4 separate regions of the Homo sapiens genome follow, and all the other regions are linked to region 2. The links are contacts of gene promoters, found by promoter capture Hi-C in human tissues and cell types (Jung and others, 2019). All regions are on one chromosome and are shown on one strand. The core of a region is centred on a gene start or on the middle of the fragment in contact, and the rest is flanking DNA. Distances in the headings are between cores, read along the strand shown.

Region 1 (5,338 bases), core at 1,050-3,549, 55 kb before region 2:
CAAATCAGCACCCACACTCAAATGTGTAATCTATCACTTTTTAACACAGTGACTTCTACCAACACATTAACTTTTGTTGCAAACATTGGGGTAAACTTTTTATGTAATTTTTGATTCATTGTGATTTAAAGCTTAGCTATTAAAAAACCTTTTATTAACATCATCTGCTTATTTTTTATAAATGGAGATGTTTTTCAGTTCTATGTAACCAGAATAAAATATGGAAATATATTTGAATGCTGAAGACTTTCAGTTTCAACCATAACACTCGATTGTCTTTCTGTGTGTATCAAAATAGCCTCATGATTTTTATTGATGGACTTTATCATAAGTTCTAATAAAACACTACTGTCATCTGTTTTATTCATAGGGATTCCACATAAGTATTCTTTAGGGCAAGAAAATGTTCTACTGTCTAAAAGCTCGAAAATCATGACAATAAATGAGAGAAACTATTGGAGATTTTTGAGCAGGAAAGTTACATAATGAAAGTGGTGTTTTAGGAACATACTAATCTGGCTTTTTGTCAGATGCATTGCCCAGAGACCAGTTAAGAAGATACTGTGAACAGCGTCCTGTGAAAATAACCATTATAATACAATAGAAAATGGAACTAAGACCTATTATATCTGTTGGAAATCATGAGAGGCATAAAACAAAGTGGTTGAAAAATTATGTTTACATACCAAATAGATATTTTGAAAGGCTTTTCACCTTCAAGCTCTATGATTTCTTCTATTTTGTCTTCAAATAAAAAATGTAAAAAAGGAAGAAATGACACTACAGAGAGTGTTGAGAGAGATCACTAATATAGAAAAAAGCACCTAGCAAATTGTTACCCTACCTCTTTTAAAATGCTTCTGGTTGGTTGAACAGCATTGACTAGATACGAGAATTCTTTGAACTGAACTTTTGGCAATGAAAGTCTCCCTCCAGTCCCATCTTTAACCTCAAAATATTTTTCCGTGATTTTACAAAATTATTTGTCAAAGATAATAAATATTCTTTCTGGAAAATTATAGAAATTCATATGAGCAAGCAAAAAATTAAAGTTACTTGAAATTCTACAACTTAGATGGAATTGTTTGAAAGACTATCCACTTTTAATGTATAGTCTCTCCAATATTATTCTATACAAATATCTACCAGTAAACACACAAGGTTTCAGATGAAACAGGATTGTACTATACATTCAGCTAAATGTTTCGAAAATGTGTCTATTACATATTATTAGTTAAATATTTAGCATCCAGGGGATAGTTATTTAATAAATATCAATGGCCCGAAATCTAATGTACAATTTTAAGCAGACTAGCTTGAAATTTAAATTTAATTAAAATTATGGTCATAAGATATGCACGATCTCTAAAACATAATAAATTTAATCTGTATCCAATCATAGATTTTGAGTCAAAGTATTTACAAACACCAGTCCCTTTTAAATTCAGTATTGGCTTGGCCCCATTGTAACCAGAATTTAGTATCCCAAAGGTCCATCTGAACATTTCACCATGTCGGGTCCATATGAACATCTCAACATGTTGGAACAAAATAGACTCCAGAGTATAACTATTTTATTCTACCCAGATCATCACAAGTCCAATATTTCCAATTGATGGTATCAGTAAGGCACAATTTTGCTGCCTTAAATTGGTGTTTTCTCCCATCCTTCTCCTTCCTCAGCAAGAGTCGTTAAAACTTTATCTCATTTTTCATTATTCTGCTTCCCGATACTTTCACCGCATAAGGATATTGAACCTTTAGTGATTCAATGACTGGCTCAAAGGACATAATCAGTTACAGGAAGGTCTAGGACTTGACTCCTTGATGCTTCATTTTTCTCTTGGCTTGAATACAAGGGCTCCTGACACCATACCTATTGCCTTATGTCAAAAGGCATGATATATAAGTCCTGGAAGCCCTCATTGACACAGTTCCACTTATAGCAGTGATTTTGTGACACAGGACTTCAGGATAGTGTGTGGCAGACACAGATCGTATGAAAAACAAAAATCACAACCACAAAAAGTCTTTCACATTACTCGAAATTGCATGTTATCTCTCTGTGAATTAAAGCCAGATTCACTAACCAACACCAGTTTTTTACTTATCAGATTGGCAACAGTGAATAAGTTGAACAAAATTCTGTTTCTGAGGCTATGGGGTAATAGGTACTCTCATACATTGCTAGTGGCAGAACCCAATGGCACAACCCCATAAAGGACATTTTGGCAATATTTTTAATAGTTACAAATGTATTTACCCTTTGACCCAGCAGTCTCACTTCTGGGAATGCATCTTACTGACACATCTGCACACATCAAAATGATTTATGTCTAAGGTTATTCATGATGGCATTGTTTGTGAAGGCAGAAGATTAGAAACAACCCAAGTGTCTATCAGCAGAGTGGTTAATTAAATTATGGTACATGCACACAATGGAATATTAGGTAGCTGTGAAAAAACAATGAGGAAGCATAAGATGTCCTGATAAGGAAAAATCTCGGGGAAATATTGTTAAAGATAAAACTCAAGGTGTGGAGTAAAGTGATGATAATCTACATTTTATACAAGAAGTGGAGGAAGCAATATGAACAATTAATACAAGCAGTTATTCATAGGGGGAGTAGGAATGAGATAGATAGTGCAAGGTAGGACGGAGCCTTCTCAGTGTTTACTTTGTTCAAGTTTTTTAAAAAGTTTTAAATAAATCATTTGAATATTACTTATTAAAACAAAAACTAAATAAATGTTTCGAAGACATATATTTACTTTCATTGTTCTAGTTAAATAACAGGCCTAGAGTGCCCTAAATCCTTTCTGGCTTAATCATTTTGAATGGGAACATTAAAGTATCTTCTTCGATGAGCTCTCTTGTTGCAACAAAAAGGTTAAGAAAAATATTAAATCAATGTACTCATCATTTCGCTTGATAATCACCTAGTAGTTTGCTGCTTTATGGCAATAAGCTATCTAGGAATATCCTAAGTAACACTGTGGGCTTTTCTCACTTTCCCAACTCTGCCTTTTAGGAAGAGTGATAGGACAGCAGCACGTCCCTATTCCAAATATATCTATGTCATGACTGAGAGGAAAATGGAAAAACTACACTTTGATATGGATAATCATTTGTTTTAATAAATAACACAAAAGATCACAGGAAAGTGACATGATTAAGCTGAGTGCAGAGAATTGTCAAATTTTTTTTTAAAAAGCTTGTGTATGCAGCAGAGTCAAATAGTAATTTGATTAGAATAGAGGGCCCAGTTGAATAAAACAGATATAATTCATTAACTTGATAGGATCATTTTCAAATCTTCACTTTACATGTCATTACATGGGCACATTTTGCTCCTCAAAAATCAGGCTTTCCTGGCCGGGTGCAGTGGCTCAAGCCTGTAATCCCAGCACTTTGGGAGGCTGAGGTGGGTGGATCACTTGAGGCCAGGAATTCAAGACCAGCCTGGCTAACATGGTGAAACCCTGTCTCTACTAAAAATACAAAAATTAGTCAGGTATGGTGGTGGGCACCTGTAATCCCAGCTACTTGGGAGGCTGAGGCAGGAGGCTCGCTTGCACTGCGCTCCAGCCTGGACAACAGAGCGAGATTCCATCTCAAAAAAAAAAAAAAATTCAGGCTTTCTTAGGATTATGAGTTCTGCTTCAAAATAAGATTTCTGTAATAAAGTTGAAGCAGGAAAACACAAAGCTCTTAGGGTTGGAGTGAAATTTTGCATTAATGCTCTATTACCAGAATTATATATCATTATTATACATATTATTATTTTTAAAAATGAAATGAACACTAGCTGTGGGATTTTAGAAAGGGCATTTAACCATCTCTGAGCTCCAGTTTCCTTACCTGTTCATAGGGATGATAATAATATCTTGATCATAGGGTGTTGTAAGAAATAAATGAGTTAATGGATTTGAGAATGTGCTTAATACCATGCCTGATATTAAATGCTCATTAAGTGGTGGCTAATATTTTGATCTTTTTGAATATCAACATTCCTATAAGAATTTATTAGTTTTACTATACATAGTCACGTTCTCAGAAATGTGTTGTTAGGTAATTTTGCCATTGTGTGACCATCATAGAGTATACTCACACAAACCTAAATAGTGTAGCCTACTACACATGTAGGCTATCCGGTATAGCCTATGCCCCTAGGCAACAAACCAGTGCATCATGTTACTGTACTAAATACTATAGGCAACTGTAACACATTGGTAAGTATTTGTGTATGTCAACATAGAAAACATACAATAAAAATACAGTGTTATAATCTTATGAGACCACCATTGTATATGCAGTCATTGACTAAAACATCATTTTGCAGTGCATGACTATACACACACACACTCACCCATATATAACATTTGTGATATAAATTCTAATAACAATAATGCTTATGATATGCTAATTGTAAAACAGGGATGTGAAATTCAATGAATATTATGATTTAACAACAAGAAATATACAAGTACAGGCCAGGCGCAGTGGCACATGCCTGTAATCCCAGCACTTTGGGAAGCTGAGGCAGGTGGATCACCTTAGGTGAGGAGTTCGCGACCAGCCTGGCCAACATGGTGAAACCCCATCTCTACTAAAAATACAAAAAATTAGCCCGGCATGATGGCGCAAGCCTGTGATCCCAGCTACTCAGGAGGCTGAGGCAGGAGAATCGCTTGAACCTGGGAGCGGAGGTTGCAGTGAGCCAAGATCGTGCTATTGCACTCCAGCCTGGGTAACAAGAGTGAAACTCCATCTCAAAAAAAAAAAAAAAAAAGAAATATTAAGTACAATAATAGTGGAAGTATTGGAATAGTAAAACTATTAGTGACTATTCTTTTCTCTATTTCCCAAATGTTTTCTAAAAATTTTTCTAACTTTATAATGACAATAAGGATAATGTAATAAACTTGGCAAGGGAGAAGAAATGAAAATAAATTGTGAAAAGGAATAAACTACCTTGATTGAGGTTATAATTTCTCTCCAACCCTAAGAGCTTTTGTGTTCTCCTTCTTCAGCTATATTACAAAAATCTTATTTTGAAGCAGAACTCATAATCCTACAAGAAAGCCTGATTTTTTTTTTTTTTTTTTGAGGTGAAGTCTTGCTCTGTTGCTCAGGCTGGAGTACAGTGGTACAATCTTGGTTCAATTCAACCTCTGCCTCCCTGGATCAAGCGATTCTCTTGCCTCAGCCTCCCAGGTAGCTAGGATTACAGGTGCCCACCACCACACACGGCTAATTTTCATCTTTTTAGTAGAGACAGGGTTTCACCATATTGGCCAGGCTGGTCTTGAATACCTGGCCTCAAGTGATCCACCC
Region 2 (5,437 bases), core at 1,007-3,506:
TCCGTCTGCCTCTGACTCCCAAAGTGCGAGGATTACAGGCATGAGCCACCACACCTGGCCTCCGCCTGCCCTCTTTAAGGAGAAATTCTGGGTCATCACTGTTACAAATAGGGCAGGGCATGGGATTTGGACAATCAGCATTTACTGAGGGTCCACCGTGTGCTGAAATCTGAAGACAACACTGGGAGCTGTTACAATGTTACCAGCAGGCAGAAAAGTCTTTTTCTGCAAGAACTCACAATATAAGCAGAGAACAGGGCAACCACACATTAAAAGATTTATCTAAGGTATATTAATAAAAGAGCATTGACAGTGTTATTAATATGCATTATGAATGTCAAATTCAATAACATATTCAGATGAAAACTATCAAGGCCTGGACTTGCTGAAGGCACTCTTTTCACCTTTGCTTTTGGTATGCAGGTAGATATTGCAGAATGTGCTCTTTATAGCGGTTAACAAGATGCTGTAATGGAAAAAGGATTACAGGGCACAGCTAAGTTCCCATCTAAAGTTGGTGCCACAGCAAAGCAATCAATCAACAAAGTGAAGACACCAACCCGCAGAATGGGAAAAAAAATACTCAAACACTACCCATCTGACAAGGGGCTAACAACCAGAATATATAAGGAGCTCAAACAACTGTAGAGGAAAAAATCTAATAATATGATTTAAAAATGATCAAAATATCTGAATAGACATTTCTCAGAACAAGACATACAAATGGCAAACTGGTATGTGAGAAGTGCTCAACATCATCGATCATCAGAGAAAGGCAAATCAAAACTACAAAGAGATATGACTTCACCCCAGTTAAAATGGCTTTTATCCCAAAACAGGCAATAACAAATGCTGGTGAGGATGTGAAGAAAAGGACACCCTCATACACTGCTGGTGGGAATGTAAATTAGTACAGCCACTATGGAGAACAGTTTGGAGGTTCCTCAAAAGAGAAAAATAGGACTGCCATATGATCCAGCAATCCCACTGCTGAGCATATACCCCAAAGAATGGAAATCAGTCTATCGGAGAGGTATCTGCATGCCCATGTATATTGCAGCATGTTTCACAATATCCAAGATTAAGAAACAACCTAAATGTCCATCAACAGACAAGTGGATAAAGAAATGTGGTACAGGTACAGAATAGAATTCAGCCAAAGGAAAGAATGAAATCCTGTCATTTGCAACAATATGGATGGAACTGGAGGTCCTTATGTTAAGTGAAATAAACCAGGCACAGAAAGACAAACTTCATATGTTCCTACTTATTTGTGGGAACTAAAAATGGAAACAATTGAACTCATTGAGATGGAAAGTAAAAGAATGGTTACCAGAAGCTGGGAAGGGTAGTGGGAGAAAAGGGGGAGTGTGGGGATGGTTAATGCATACAAAAAAGAGAGAGAATGTATAAGATCTAGTATTTGATAGCACAACAGAGTGACTATAGTCAATAATAATTTAATTGTACATTTAAAAATAACTAAAAGGGTATAATTGGATTGCTTGTAACACAAAGAATAAATGCTTGAGGTGATGGAAATCCCACTTACCTTGATGTGATCATTACATATTAGATGCCTATATCAAAATATATCATGTACCCCATAAACTCTATGGGGTATATTACTATATTACTATGTAATCACAGCAATTAAAAATTAAAATAAAAATAATAATAGAGTTGGTGCCAGTAAAAAGATGGGAGAATGAATTGTAAATGAAGGATTGGTTCTGGAGCCTCAGGACGCAGAGAGACAGAGCTCCAATACTGCCTCCTGGCAGTTCTTGAAAACATTCTACCCACAATATTGTGGCCATTATTTTAGAGTATGGGAACCCTTTTGTTTCCTAACAAAAAGTCATAAGTTTTACATTTCTTTGCCATGATGTGAAAGGAACTGATGATTTCTTTCTCAGAACTCTGTGGCCCTTGTGAGTGAAACAGAGAGGACAGGCCACGCTTCAACATGAATGCAGCAGCATCCTTTGGAAACAATCTCAAGACCTAACTGAAAACCCATGTTTCTAATTTAAGTATGAGACAGTAATTACTCATACAGCCAGAGAGGATTCCAAGTCCCTGCCTATTTGCCGCACTATCTAAAAACAATCAACTCATCTTTCAAATCTGACCAAACTACAAATGGTATGAGAACTCCATCGTTTAATAAGGATGTTCATTTTGGCACTTAGCAGCTTACGCGTGGCTCACAGATGGCATCTGTCTCGTTTTGCGTAATCCAATCATCCTGCACTACTGCGTCTCACACTTAGTCTCCAGGAGTAATTGAAAAGCTCACGGTGACAATTGTGTCTTCTTCCAGATGTCATCGCTATAAGGAGTGGGGCTTTCATCACCTCCTTGACGTAGGATGTGTACATGGCTCTCCAGGTCAGAGTTGCTCCAAGCAAGGTAAAGAGAAATTACTTCTTTGCATTGCCTTTCAGTTGCTGCCTAGCACTGGTGTAAATGAATATGTTCTATAAATGGCCTCTCTGTCAGTGGGCAACTTGTTTCACTTTTGGCTGGGTACCATACAGAAAACATTCTGCTGCACGGCTTGCATCTTGTGGTAATAGGGCAATATAAAGGCACCCATGCCCAAGAAAGGATTCTAAAACATGTAAATAGTCGCTGTTTAGAAGGCACCATTTTATTCGGAGGTAAGCTCTCTGGTATTAGCACCTGCACGTCTGCTATCGTTTTCTGAAATCATGACAGTTTGTTCTCAATCTTTTTTTCTTTTTTTTTTTTGCAGGGAGTGGCTTTTATTTTTGTAACTTCTAAAGGGTGCGCAAAATTTTAAATGCAAAGTGTTGAAACATTTCAAGCTGTAGGTTTGTTAGTTTCTTTTTCCCCCGAGGCTAGTGTTAATAGTTGTGTTTTACTTCAGTGCAAAAATACCCCTTTAAAAAAAAATCAAACAATCGAAAACAAGGAAATATGCAAAGCCTCAAAGCAGCTGTGTAAATTCATACAGGCTTTAGGCCTATAATGAGCCAGACTTAAGGGAATGATAGTGGAAAATCAGATTTTTACTTAAAAATTAAATTACAATTATGAGTGAGTGCTACATTCATTTTAGTAAAATATCAGCACCGTGTGTATTTCCTCAAGCTTTTTCTTTACACTACCATCATCACCACATATGTCATCAGTGAGAAATGTTGAGCATGACAACAGCTAAGAAAAATTTTCAAGGTCAGTAAAACATTATTTCAGGAAAAATATTTTTAAAAAGCTTATTTTTAAGGGGTTATTAAACTTCGTAATTTATGTATAGATTTGGGATTGAACTAGCAATAATAACTTCTGCTGAAGAGATAAAAATTAGAAGATAAAATCCTTTCTCTTAAGTAGCTTACACAAAGAATGGGGGCTCTATATTTAGTCGGGGCTTACACAGACCAGACAGACAGACACACACACACACACACACACACACACACACACACACACACACGCATTGCAGAGAAAATATCCAGATAGTTGCTGCAGTTCCTCACTATCTTAGAATCATCTGAGCTTCAAGTGTAGAATTAGAGCCTTAGAACATTAGAAGAATAGTGAATATGTTCAAAATAGATAGGTTGTTGACTATCTGAATTCTCATGATACATCCCTATAAGTTATGAGTTAACTTTTCTTTTAAGTGCTTGTTCACTGTCAATATTATCAGCACAAGAATTACTGATATGCTTATAAATTAATAGTAATAGCAAAAGTGACCTTCATCTAGAGATAACTCGAATACTCAACAAACATTTATTGAGTGCATGCAATGTGCCAGGCATTGGGCTAATTAAATCCCCCCTATCTGTACACTTTAAATGACAGAAAAGCTGACTCAAGGGAAAGAGTCATGGCCAAAGGCCATTTAATTAATTTGCTGTCTGGGAAAATAGCACAAGAACTGGGAAGAAAGCCCAAGTATGAGGACTGCTAAACTGTTCAGAATACAATGTATTCTACTCCAGTAGACGGCATGTTTCCTAACTATGTTAAACTAATGTAAACTTTCCTCTGTAAAACAAATGTTGTAAAAATCTCAGAAGCACAACACATTCCTGCATATCCTCAGAGTTGTTCACCTGAACTGGAGAATTTCATTCATTCAGGCAATTTCAGAGGGAACTACTTACCAGTAGGACGGAGCCTTTGCTGTGATTCTACAAGTGAGAGAGTCATATCTCATGATTTCTCCAGGAATTGTCCAAAGAACTACAATGCAGTCTTTCCTATGGGGAGAAGTAAGAGAGAAAGTATTATCTATTGGGAACATACAGTACTTAATGTTAAGAATTGTATACATGTTCAGAATACAAATCCCTTATGAAACTTTACCTGTAGATGAGTAGAACAAAACTCAGAAAGTAACCAGCCAATGTCACACACTTGTCAGTGATGAACTGGGGGAGAAACTCCAGTGGATCTGACTTAGAGTCCACATACTTTATTAATAGACTATGGTTCCGGCCAGGCGTGGTGGCTCATGCCTGTAATCCCAGCACTTTAGGAGGCCAAACCGGACGATCACTTTAGGTCAGGAGTTCGATACCAGCCTGGTAAACATGGTGAAACCCCATCTCTACTAAAAATACAAAAATTAGCTGGGTGTGGTGGTGCACACCTGTAGTCCCAGCTACTCAGGGAGGCTGAGGCAAGAGAATTCCTTGAAGCCGGGAGGCAGAGGTTACAGTGAGCTGAGATTGTGTCACTGTACTCCAGCCTGGGTGACAGAGCAAGACTCTGTTTCAAAAAAAAAAAAGACTATGGTTCCTACTATAGTGGTCTTGTCTTCCATTATTTCTTTCCTTCCTTCCATGATTATTATTCAAAATATATTTATTGAATACCTATGAAAGCCTGACCAATATTTTGGGGGCTGAAGAATTAAATGTGGTCAAATCAGTGTCTGTCTTTTAGAGACTGGAGAAAGAAATGTATACCTCCAAAAGTAGGTATGCTACAATACAAATTTGATGAGATCTATAAGACAAATATAATATTATGGAAGCAATTAAAATAAGATAGAGATTGATTCTGTCCTGCAGTGAGGGGTGGAGTGAGAAGATGATATATGAGCCAGACCTAGAGAATATAGCTACTTGCTCTGTAAAGAAGAGTGAAGCTACTGTAGGCAATGGGAACATTCTGCTTTGCAAAATCACACAAGGGCTTCCAGTTTCCATAGACTAAATGGAGAAGGCTATTACAGAAGGACTAGGCCTAGATTTCACAAAAGAATTCTCCTAAGTCTTCAAAGATCATATACTCCCAATGCTACTTAAATCATTTGAGTATAGAAAAACAAGAAAAGCCACAAGAAAGTTTTATGAAACAAGAAATATGTTGTCACCTAAACCATATAAATATAGTACAAAAAATAAACTATAGATCAATCTCACTTATGAATACAGAAAAATCTAAACAT
Region 3 (6,018 bases), core at 250-2,749, 51 kb after region 2:
CAAGAAATATGCAACGATGTGAAAAGACCAAATCTACGTTTGATGGGTGTACCTGAAAGTGATGGGGAGAATGGAACCAAGTTAGAAAACAATCTTCAGGATATTATCCAGGAGAACTTCCCCAACCTAGCAAGGCAGGCCAACGTGCAAATTCAGGAAATACAGAGAACACCACAAAGATACTCCTTGAGAAGAGCAACCCCAAGACACATAATTGTCAGATTCACCAAGGTTGAAATGAAGGAAAAAATGTTAAGGGCAGCCAGAGAGAAAGGTCAGGTTAATCCATCAGGTTAACAGTGGATCTCTTGGCAGAAACCCTACAAGCCAGAAGAGAGTGGGGGCCAGTATTCAACATTCTTACAGAAAAGAATTTTCAACCCACAATTTCATATCCAGCCCAAACTAAGCTTCATAAGTGAAAGAGAAATAATATCTTTTACCGACAAGAAAATGCTGAGAGATTTTGTCACCATGAGGCCTGCCTTACAAGAGCTGCTGAAGGAGGCACCAAACATGGAAAGGAAAAACTGGTACCAGCCCCTGCAAAAACATGCCAAATTGTAAAGACCATTGATGCTATGAAGAAACTGCATCAATTAACGGGCAAAATAACCAGCTAGTATCATACTGACATGATCAAATTCACACATAATAATATTAACCTTAAATGTAAATGGGCTAAATACCCCAATTAAAAGACACAGAGTGGCAAATTGGAGAAAGGCAAGACCCATCAGTGTGCTGTATTCAGGAGACCAATCTCATGTGTAGAGACGCACATAGGCTCAAAATAAAGGGATGGAGGAAGATCTACCAAGCAAATAGAAAGCAAAAAAAAAGCAGGGGTTGCAATCCTAGTCTCTGATAAAACAGACTTTAAACCAACAAAGATCAAAAGAGACAAAGAAGGACATTACGTAATGAATGGTAAAGGGATCAATTCAACAAGAAGAGCTAACTATCCTAAATATATATGTGCCCAATACAGGAGAACCCAGATTCATAAAGCAAGTTCTTAGAGACGTACAAAGAGACTTACTCTCCCACACAATAATAACAGGAGAATTTAACACCCCACTGTCAATATTAGATCAATGAGACAGAAGGTTAACAAGGATATCCAGGATTTGAACTCAGCTCTGCACCAGGCAGACCTAATAGACATCTACAGAATTCTACACCCCAAATCAACAGAATATACATTCTTCTCAGCATCACATTATACTTATTCTAAAATTGACCACATAATTGGTAGTAAAACACTCCTCAGCAAATGTAAAAGAATAGAAATCACAACAAACTGTCTCTCAGACCACAGTGCAATCAAATTAGAACTCAGGATTAAGAAACTCACTCAAAACCTCACAACTACATGGAAACTGAACAACCTGCTCCTGAATGACTACTGGGTACATAACGAAATGAAGGCAGAAATAAAGATGTTCTTTGAAACTAATGAGAACAAAGACACAATGTATCAGAATCTCTGCGACACATTTAAAGCAGTGTGTAGAGGGAAATTTATAGCACCAAATGCCCACAAGAGAAAGCAGGAAAGATCTAAAATTGACACCCTAACATCACAATTAAAAGAACTAGAGAAGCAAGAGCAAATACATTCAAAAGCTAGCAGGAGGCAAGAAATAACTAAGATCAGAGCAGAACTGACGGAGATAGAGACACGAAAAACCCTTTAAAAAAATCAGTGAATCCAGGAGCTGGTTTTTTGAGAAGATCAACAAAATAGACAGACCGCTAGCAAGACTAATAAAGAAGAAAAGAGAGAAGAATCAAATACATGCAATAAAAAATGATAAAGGGAATATCACCACCGATCCCACAGAAATACAAACTACCATCAGAGAATACTATGAACACCTCTAGGCAAATAAACTAGAAAATCTCGAAGAAATGGATAAATTCCTGGACACATACAGCCTCCCAAGACTAAACCAGGAAGAAGTTGAATCTCTGAATAGACCAATAACAGGTTCTGAAATTGAGGCAATAATTAATAGCCTACCACCCAAAAAAAAGTCCAGGACCAGATGGATTCACAGTCGAATTCTACCAGAGGTACAAAGAGGAGCTGGTACCATTCCCTCTGAAACTATTCCAATCAATAGAAAAAGAGGGAACTCTTCCTAACTCATTCTATGAAGCCAGCATCATCCTGATACCAAAGCTTGGCAGAGACACAACAAAAAAAGAGAATTTTAGACCAATATCACTGATGAACATCAATGCGAAAATCCTCAATAAAATACTGATAAACCGAATACAGCAGCACGTCAAAAAGCTTATCCACCACAATCAAGTTGGCTTCATCCCTGGGATGCAAGCCTGGTTCAACGTACTCAAATCAATAAACATAATCCAACACATAAACAGAACCAACGAAAAAAACCACATGATTATCTCAATAGATGCAGAAAAGGCCTTCAACAAAATTCAACAGCCCTTCATGCTAAAAACTCTCAATAAACTAGGTATTGATGGAGCATGTCTCAAAATAATAAGAGCTATTTATGACAAACCCACAGCCAATATCTTACTGAATGGGCAAAAACTGAAAGCAGTACCTTTGAAAACCGGCACAAGACAAGGATGCTCTCTCTCACCACTCCTATTCAACATAGTGTTGGAAGTTCTGGCCAGGGCAATCAGTCAGGAGAAAGAAATAAAGAGTATTTAGTTAGGAAAAGAGGAAGTCAAATTGTACCTGTTTGCAGATGACATGATTGTATATTTAGAAAACCCTATCGTCTCAGCCTACCTGATAAGCAATTTCAGCAAAGTCTCAGCATATAAAATCAACATGGAAAAATCACAAGCATTCCTATACACCAATAACAGAGAAACAGAGAGCCAAATCATGAGTGAACTCCCATTCACAATTGCTTCAAAGAGAATAAAATACCTAGGAATCCAACTTACAAGGAATGTGAAGGACCTCTTCAAGGAGAACTACAGACCACCGCTCAATGAAATAAAAGAAGACACAAACAAATGGAAGAACATTCCATGCTCATGGATAGGAAGAATCAATATCATGAAAATGGCCATACTGCCCAAAGTAATTTATAGATTCAATGCCATCCCCATCAAGCTACCAATGACTTTCTTCACAGAATTGGAAAAAACTACTCTAAAGTTCATATGGAACCAAAAAAGAGCCCACATAGCCAAGACAATCCTAAGCAAAAAGAACAAAGCTGGAGGCATCATGCTACCTGACTTCAAACTATACTACAAGGCTACAGTAACCAAAACAGCATGGTACTGGTACCAAAACAGAGATATAGACCAATGGAACAGAACAGAGGCTTCAGGAACAACACCACACATCTACAACCATGTGATCTTTGACAAACCTGACAAAAACAAGAAATGGGGAAAGGATTCCCTATTTAATAAATAGTGCTAGGAAAACTGGCTAGCCATATGCAGAAAGCTAAAACTGGATCGCTTCCTTACACCTTATACAAAAATTAACTCAAGATGGATTAAAGACTTAAATGTAAGACCTAACACCATAAAAACCCTAGAAGAAAACCTAGGCAATACCATTCAGGACATAGGCATGGGCAAAGACTTCATGACTAAAACCCCAAAAGCAATGGTAACAAAAGCCAAAATAGACAAAAGGGATCTAATTAAACTAAAGAGCTTCTGCACAGCACCATCAGAGTGAACAGGCAACCTACAGAATGGGAGAGAATTTTTGCAATCTATCCATCTTACAAGGCTAATATCCAGAATCTACAAAGAACTTAAACAAATTTACAAGAAAAAAGAAAAACTCCATCAAAAAGTTGGCAAAGGATATGAACAGACATTTCTCAAAAGAAGACATTTATGCAGCCAACAGACACATGAAAAAATGCTCATCATCACTGGTCATTAAAGAAATGCAAACCAAAACCACAATGAGATACCATCTCACGCTAGTTAGAATGGCAATCATTAAAAAGTCAGGAAACAACAGATGCTGGAGAGGATGTGGAAAAATAGGAACACTTTTACACTGTTGGTGGGAGTGTAAACTAGTTCAACCATTGTAGAAGATAATGTGGAAATTCCTCAAGGATCTAGAGCTAAAAATACCATTTAACCCAGCAATCCCATTACTGGGTATATACCCAAAAGATTATAAATCATGCTACTATAAAGACACACACACACGTATGTTTATTGTGGCACTATTCACAATAGCAAAGACTTGGAACCAATCCAAATGTCCATCAATGATAGACTGGATTAAGAAAATGTGGCACATATACACCATGGAATACTATGCAGCCATAAAAAAGGATGAGTTCCTGTCCTTTGCAGGGACATGGATGACACTGGGAACCATCATTCTCAGCATACTATTACAAGGACAGAAAACCAAACACTGCATGTTCTCACTCACAGGTGGGAATTGAACAATGAGAACACATGGACACAGGGTGGGGAACATCACACACACACCAGGGCATGTCTGGGAGTGGGGGCCTGGGGGAGGGATAGCATTAGGAGAAATACCTAATGTAAACGATGAGTTGATGGGTGCAGCAAGCCAACATGGCCTATGTATACCTATGTAACAAACCTGCATGTTGTGCACATGTACCCTGAACTTAAAGTATAATAAAAATTTTTAAAAAGATTTGGTTTATGTCTATTTTTCTATCTGCTCCCCTGTAGGAGCTCCATTTGGGGCAGGTTTCACCTCATGTATTTTCTGTCTGGTTCCTCATGTTTCTTGTTAGAGCCAATGAAAAAAGGGCAAGGATGTGTCTTTCCCAAAAAGTTCTGTTGTTACTGGCTCACACTGGATCCTCTGCCCATCACCATACCAGAGCAGTGGAATGTGTTGGTTAGTGTTGAGACAATCTGAGCTCACCTGTGACTAGAGAGTGGAAGGGTGGAAGACAGTGTCAGCTTCCCTTGAAACCCATGAGCTCTTTGAAGAAGCAGAATGCAAGAATAAAAATTAGGTCTCTGTCAACGAGGAGTTCGAGCAACAAATGTCTACTTTATCTATCAAAGTGTATCACAATTTTACCTATAGTTTAGTTGTGAAGATAAAAGATACATAAATGAAGTAATGAATGGCCAGTATGTGATCATGCAAAACAACACTAACCATTGGTAATAAATGTTTAATTGCATAATACACAAAAATAAGACAGGAACAGAAGGAAGGGTAAATGAAACAAAATCAATTGTGGTTTTGTATCAGTAGAAAATGCTCCAAATATTTATCAAGCACCTACTCTCTGTGTCTGTGCTAGGATCTGTTACTTACTTGTGAAGTCATTGCCCTCTCTGACCTTAAGATGGGGATAATATCTATCCTACTGTATTAGTCTGTTTTCATACTACTGATAAAGACATACCTGATACTGCACAATCTGTAATAGAAAGAGGTTTAATGGACTTACAGTTCCACATGGCTGGGGAGGCCTCACAACTATGGTGGAATGCAATGAGGAGCAAGTCACATCTTACATGAATGGCAGCAGGCAAAGAGAGAGATTGTGCAGGGAAACTGTCATTTTTAACACCATCAGATCTTGTGAGACTCATTCACTATCACAAGAACAGCTCATGAAAGACCCATACTCATAATTCAGTCACCTCCCACCAGGTTCCTCCCTTGACAGGTGGGAATTCTGGGAGTTACAATTCAAGATGAGATTTGGATGGGGATAACGCCAAACCATATCACCTACTATCCTCGAAGAATCAAAGAAATAAATTTATGTCAAAGTGTCAACTGGACATCACTACATGGATATGGTAAATTTTGCAATCATAAGCTTAAATATCTCCACTGAAGCTTTTTCTTTAATCTGGAATATTTACTTCTTGGGTCAGTAAAATCCTGCTCCTCATTCAAAACTGAACTAAAAGATAATTGCTATGAAACCTTCTCAGTATCTATCTTTTTCCAAATTGAGAGTGATTTAATTACCCATTCTGCACTACATTTTGTTCTTGCCTCTGTTACAGTAATCAACACAT
Region 4 (5,139 bases), core at 1,080-3,579, 36 kb before region 2:
GTAACTTGTAAGATAATATTATTAGGTCTATTGACTGGGAAGTAGATTGTGATAAACTTGTAAAGCAAAACCCCCTTCACTCCAGAAAAGAATTACTCTCCTGACAATAGAGCAGTACCTTCAAATTGGGGTTTATGTACACCTGGGAGCACCAGGAACCTTTCCAAGGCCTACACAGGACCATGATTTTAAGGAAATCAACTTCCAGATCTTCAACTTTCATATGTATACTCTCGAAAACTACTAAAATTGTCTTCTGTGCTTTCCTAATTTCCACATTTCCATTTATAATCCCTCTTCTCAAACTTTATAAAAGTGAACAACTCACCTTTCCTGAATTGAATTTTACTTTATCATATTCTTAATGTTTGAAAAAACTTCTGAGGCACCAATAAAAGGGCGGTGGGGCAAGGAGCAGTTCCAAGTATTGGTATCAGTATTGACAAAGTGAATAACGCAAATGATTGGTTAGCAAATTTTTTTTGTTGAGAGTTTCCCTTTTCAATTATTTTCATCAAAATCCAGTGAGGATCTAATAGAGTTCTTAACAAATAGATTATTAAAAACTAATTTTCGATGATAAATCACTATGGAATTTTTGTTATATGTCTCAAAAGGAGTTCAAAGAATTGAATAACAGAGCCACAACAAACTCCATCCAGTTCCGTCTACTTATTTAGGTTAACTGTGTTTCTCAGGGCCTACATTTGTAAAAACGAAAAACAGAAGTGCCATTTTTAATTTTAGTAATGAGTAATGATCATACATAGATACAGCCCCATTTATTTCATTAAAAGATGCATTGCCAATAAATTTTATTCAACACATATTTATCAAAGTTTTAATAAATGTTTGGATCAGTTGTGCACTAATAAAAACGATAACTCAATCCAGACTGAATTTTTTTAATGCTTAGAGCCTCATGTTCACAAAATTTTTAAATTTCAAATACTATACTGAAAGTGTTATAGGCTAATAAAAGACTTTTAAGCATAAAAATGTATCATAAATATATAGGTAAAATTCTCGTGAAGGCATGGATTAGAAGTATGTGTAGAAAGAGTCAAGGAAAAGCTTGTTTATATATTTGCATTTCTATAGACAGATAAAACTGTTATGGTAACAAAATGTTTGACTGGATATAATTTAAAAACTGAAGTTATTGCTTTATTTTTAAATGCTGGTGTTTTAAACATATGGATATGACATATTCTCCATTTTTATTTTTATTATTTATCTTATTTTATTTTACTTTTAGACAAGTCTTAGTCTGTCACCCAGGCTAGAATGCAGTGGTGTGAACAGAGCTCACTGCAGCCTCAACCTCTCGGACCGAAGCAATCCTCTCTTATCCTCCTGAGTAGCTGGCTCCACAGGTGCACACCAACACATCCAGCTAGTTTTTAAGAAAGTATTTTGTATAGATGGGGTGGGCGCATCTCCCTTTGTTGCCCAGGCTGATCTCGAACTCCCAGGCTCAAGTGATCCTCCAGCCTTGGCCTCCCAAAGTGCTGGGATTATAGGCATGAGCCACCCACCATGTCTGGCCAGAACTGAGGCACTGAAAACAATGCCCTATTTCTTACTGTGAGTAAGGAACTAAGGTTTATATCTTTTGGTTCTATCCAAATTCCTCTGCCTGTGCTTACGGGCTGATCCCTAGAATTGCATGGTTGTCTAATTTTTTATGGAAAAACCATCTTTTCTTTTCTCATACTGGAAATTAAATTGTAATTTGATCTTATTTAGACCAGGTAGCCAATAAATATTTGAATGCTGTAACCAAGGCAACTAACGAGCCAGCCAATTGACCAGTCAATCAATTATAGATGAATACAGATTTCCAGAAACATTTCAAATTTTATTTCTGTCATCAAAGTGCCTACAATACAGCATGGCAACTGTACTTACAATTCAAAGAAGTGAGGTCTAAAAGTCATTATTTGAGTTTGAAATGCAGACAGCAATATTTGGTACAATACACACTTTAACCAATAAGTATACACAACATATATGTATATGTGATATATAAACATATGTATGTGTATGCATATATAACTGTGTGTGTGTGTGTGTGTGTGTGTGTGTGTGTGTGCACGTGACCCTTGAACAACACAGGTTTAAACTACTATGCAGGTCCACTTATATGCGAATTTTTTTCAATAAAAGTTACATAAAGTGCGCCTGCCTCTCCTGCCTCCCCTTTCACCTCCTCCACCTCTTCTGCCTCTGCCAGTCCTGAGAGAGCAAGACCAACCCCTCCTTTTCCTTCTCCTTCTCAGCCTATTCAACATGAAGATAACAAAGATGAAGACTTTTATGATGATCCACTTCCAATTAATGAATAGTAAATGTATTTCCTCTTCCTTATGATTTTCTTAATAACTAATAACCTTTTCTCTAGCTCGCTTTGCTTTAAGAATACTGCATATAACACATATGATATGCAAAATATCTGTTAATAGACTATGTTTTTGCCAAGGCTTCTGGTCAAGAATAGCCTATTCGTAGTTAAATTTTGGGGGGAGTCAAATGTTATCTGAGGGTTTTCAACTGCAGGGCATTAGTGCTCCTTGCCCCCAAGTTGTTCAGGGGTCAACTGTATGTTTTTATTAAGACAATTATCCTCTCTAAGGCTGGCTTCAGGGTATGGTTAGCCACTGGTCCTGCTAAACAGTATAGGTAGTAGAACAAATATAATTCATATCTCAGGTGATCTGCTTACAGGGTAACAACCTCCAACAGAGGAAAAACCTTACACAACGGAGGAGACCAGCAAACAAATCTGTTTCTACCACTTGCTTGTTGACACATTCAACGAGGAGCAGTTAACTCATCTTACTCAGCAGATATAGAACAGTTTAGGTGTTCTTGAAATCACATGATGAGTTCTACATGTACTCACGCTACATGGACTCAAAGATGCCTACTAATTGTCTGCAGCAGAACCTTTACAACACAATGTCTCAAAGTTAGTTTGCCAATGATAACCCAAAAGTGCTCAATCTAGAATTTATTTCCTTCATTAAGAAATAATTTGAACTTAACTGTAACTTTACAGAGTAAATTATTGAATTTGGCTTCTGATAAAAATAGAAATTCTGAATATACAGCATCATTTGTTTCATTTTGGATAAAAATTTAAAATGAATATCCTGAGATTGCTGAAACTGCCTTAAAATCTTTTGTTTCATTCCCATTAACATAGCTTTGTGAGACTTGTTTCTCTACTATCAGTTGTTAAAATTAAAGTAGGTCTGGCATCGTGGCTCACGCCTGCAATTCCAGCACTTTGTGAAGTCGAGGATGGCGCATCATCTGAGGCCAGGAGTTCAAGACCAGCCGAGGCAACAAAGTGAGATCTCTGTCTCTCCGAAAAAAAAAAAAAAAAAGCCAGACATGGTGGCACACGCCTGTGGTCCCAGCCATAAGAGGCCAGAGAATAGCTTCAGCCCAGGAGTTTGAGACCAACCTGGGCAACATAGTGAGACCCCCAAGACCCTCATCTCTACAAAAAATAAAATATTAGTGGGGTGTGGTGGTACATGTCTGTAGTCCCAACTACTTGGGGTCTGAGGTGGGAGGATCACTGAGCCCAGGAGGTCAAAGCTTCTGTGAGCCATGATCGCATCATTGCACTCCAGTCTGGGAGACAGAGTGAGACCCAGTCTCAAAAAAAAAAAAAAAAAAAGAAAGAAAGGGAAAAAAAAAGAAATTAAAGTAGATTAGATATGTTAACAAGTAAGAAGCAAGCTTACTTGTCACATTAAAAACTGTATGTGGGTAGTTTAATGTATGTAAATAGTGTTTAACTTGGGAAGTTGCTTTTCATTCATATTTTTGTTTAGTTACAATTGTGAAATGACAAAAAGTTATTGGCAAAACAGTGATTTTTCTGTATTAGTTGTCTACATACATATTTTCACTGAATAATATGGATAATTTTTGTAATTCTTTCATTTTTAACATTTGTTCCAATGGCATTAATTAAAATATAATTTTATGTCTACAGGATCTAATAATAAAAAATTGGAATTATATCTTATATGTCTTTTAAACTTTGTTCATTTTATTTATTTTTTAATAACTCAATGTTATTCATATTTTCTAAAACCATTAGTTCATGACTGATTCAGAGTAAAAAACATACACACAAAAAAACTGGAAGTTAGCCACACTGAACTAGGAACTGAAAGTCTCACTGAACTAAGAGACTTTCTGAGTCTCTGTTTTCTGTTCTATGAAACAGGAATGTCAATACTTTAGAAAGATACTGTATAATTGAATAAAATCATGAGTAACACATTCCTGGTCTCTATTAGTCATTCAATATATGTAATCTTTTATGGCATATGCATTTAGACTATTTTAATAATAATATCTAGCCTCCATAATGTTATGTACTATTCTACATTCTTCCTGTGTATTAACTCATTCAATCCAAGTCCTGTGAGATGAATAATATTATTAGCTTCATTTGACAGGTTAATAAGCTAAGGGCCATAGTCAGTTTTCACTAGGTAATGCTGTAATAAGAAACAACGTCAAAATTCCAATAGCTTCTAACAATAAATACTTATTTCTCACATATATTATTTTGGTGGCTGCACCTCACTTTCCTTAGCTCTTCTCTGTGGGTCTTCTCATTCCAGGCCCCAGGCTGAAGGAGTAGCCCCCTCTTCTGAGGGGACACATCATTTCCTTGGAAGAGGGTAAAAGCAAGAGAGATGGTGGAAACCCACTGCAGATCTTGAAGCTGCTTGCTAGATATAGTATACACCATGTTTACTCACATACCACTGGCCAGAGCACACTCATGGCCAAGAACAAGGTCAATAGAACAAAGAAGTATCATCCCCTTAGAAGAAGGAGAAATGATTATTCAGGAGCAATAATAGTCTGTCACAGTTACGCTGTCTTTTTTTGTCCCTTTTGTTCTGCTATAACAGAATACTTGAGATTGGGTAATCTCTACAGCACAGAGATTTATTTCTGAAAGTCTTGGAACTAGGAAGTTCACGGTCAAGGGGCCCACATCTGGTGAGAATTGTCTTGCTGCATCATCCTATGATGGAACGCAGAAGGGAAAGAGGGCATGTGCATGAGAGAAAGTTGGAGAGTGGGGGAGAAGGGACTGAA

What was found. Contacts are between HindIII fragments. The study calls those that stand out against the background at their distance.
Region 1: a contact is called between a fragment that was not itself captured here and the fragment with the promoter of TMEM244 in region 2, in 2 of the 25 tissues and cell types used here (hippocampus and psoas muscle).
Region 3: a contact is called between a fragment that was not itself captured here and the fragment with the promoter of TMEM244 in region 2, in 2 of the 25 tissues and cell types used here (ovary and stomach).
Region 4: a fragment that was not itself captured here is called in contact with the fragment with the promoter of TMEM244 in region 2 in 1 of the 25 tissues and cell types used here (pancreas).

Annotation. Positions count from the first base shown.
Region 1 is chr6:129,913,419-129,918,756 of GRCh38, reverse strand. The region is part of intron 4 of LOC105377999 (a long non-coding RNA gene); the gene reads right to left. Among named protein-coding and RNA genes, the nearest start is that of TMEM244, 55 kb to the right of the region's middle. The HindIII fragment of the contact is 4,560 bases long and covers 20-4,579 here.
Region 2 is chr6:129,858,134-129,863,570 of GRCh38, reverse strand. It overlaps TMEM244 (transmembrane protein 244), which reads left to right and starts at 2,256. Exons shown (of 5, transcript NM_001010876.2): 1 at 2,256-2,415. The coding sequence starts at 2,383. It overlaps LOC105377999 (a long non-coding RNA gene), which reads right to left. Exons shown (of 8, transcript XR_942986.3): 2 at 4,146-4,241. The HindIII fragment of the contact is 10,214 bases long and covers 1-4,906 here.
Region 3 is chr6:129,805,677-129,811,694 of GRCh38, reverse strand. No RefSeq gene overlaps it. Among named protein-coding and RNA genes, the nearest start is that of TMEM244, 53 kb to the left of the region's middle. The HindIII fragment of the contact is 5,119 bases long and covers 1-4,058 here.
Region 4 is chr6:129,894,997-129,900,135 of GRCh38, reverse strand. The region is part of intron 4 of LOC105377999 (a long non-coding RNA gene); the gene reads right to left. Among named protein-coding and RNA genes, the nearest start is that of TMEM244, 36 kb to the right of the region's middle. The HindIII fragment of the contact is 5,137 bases long and covers 1-4,897 here.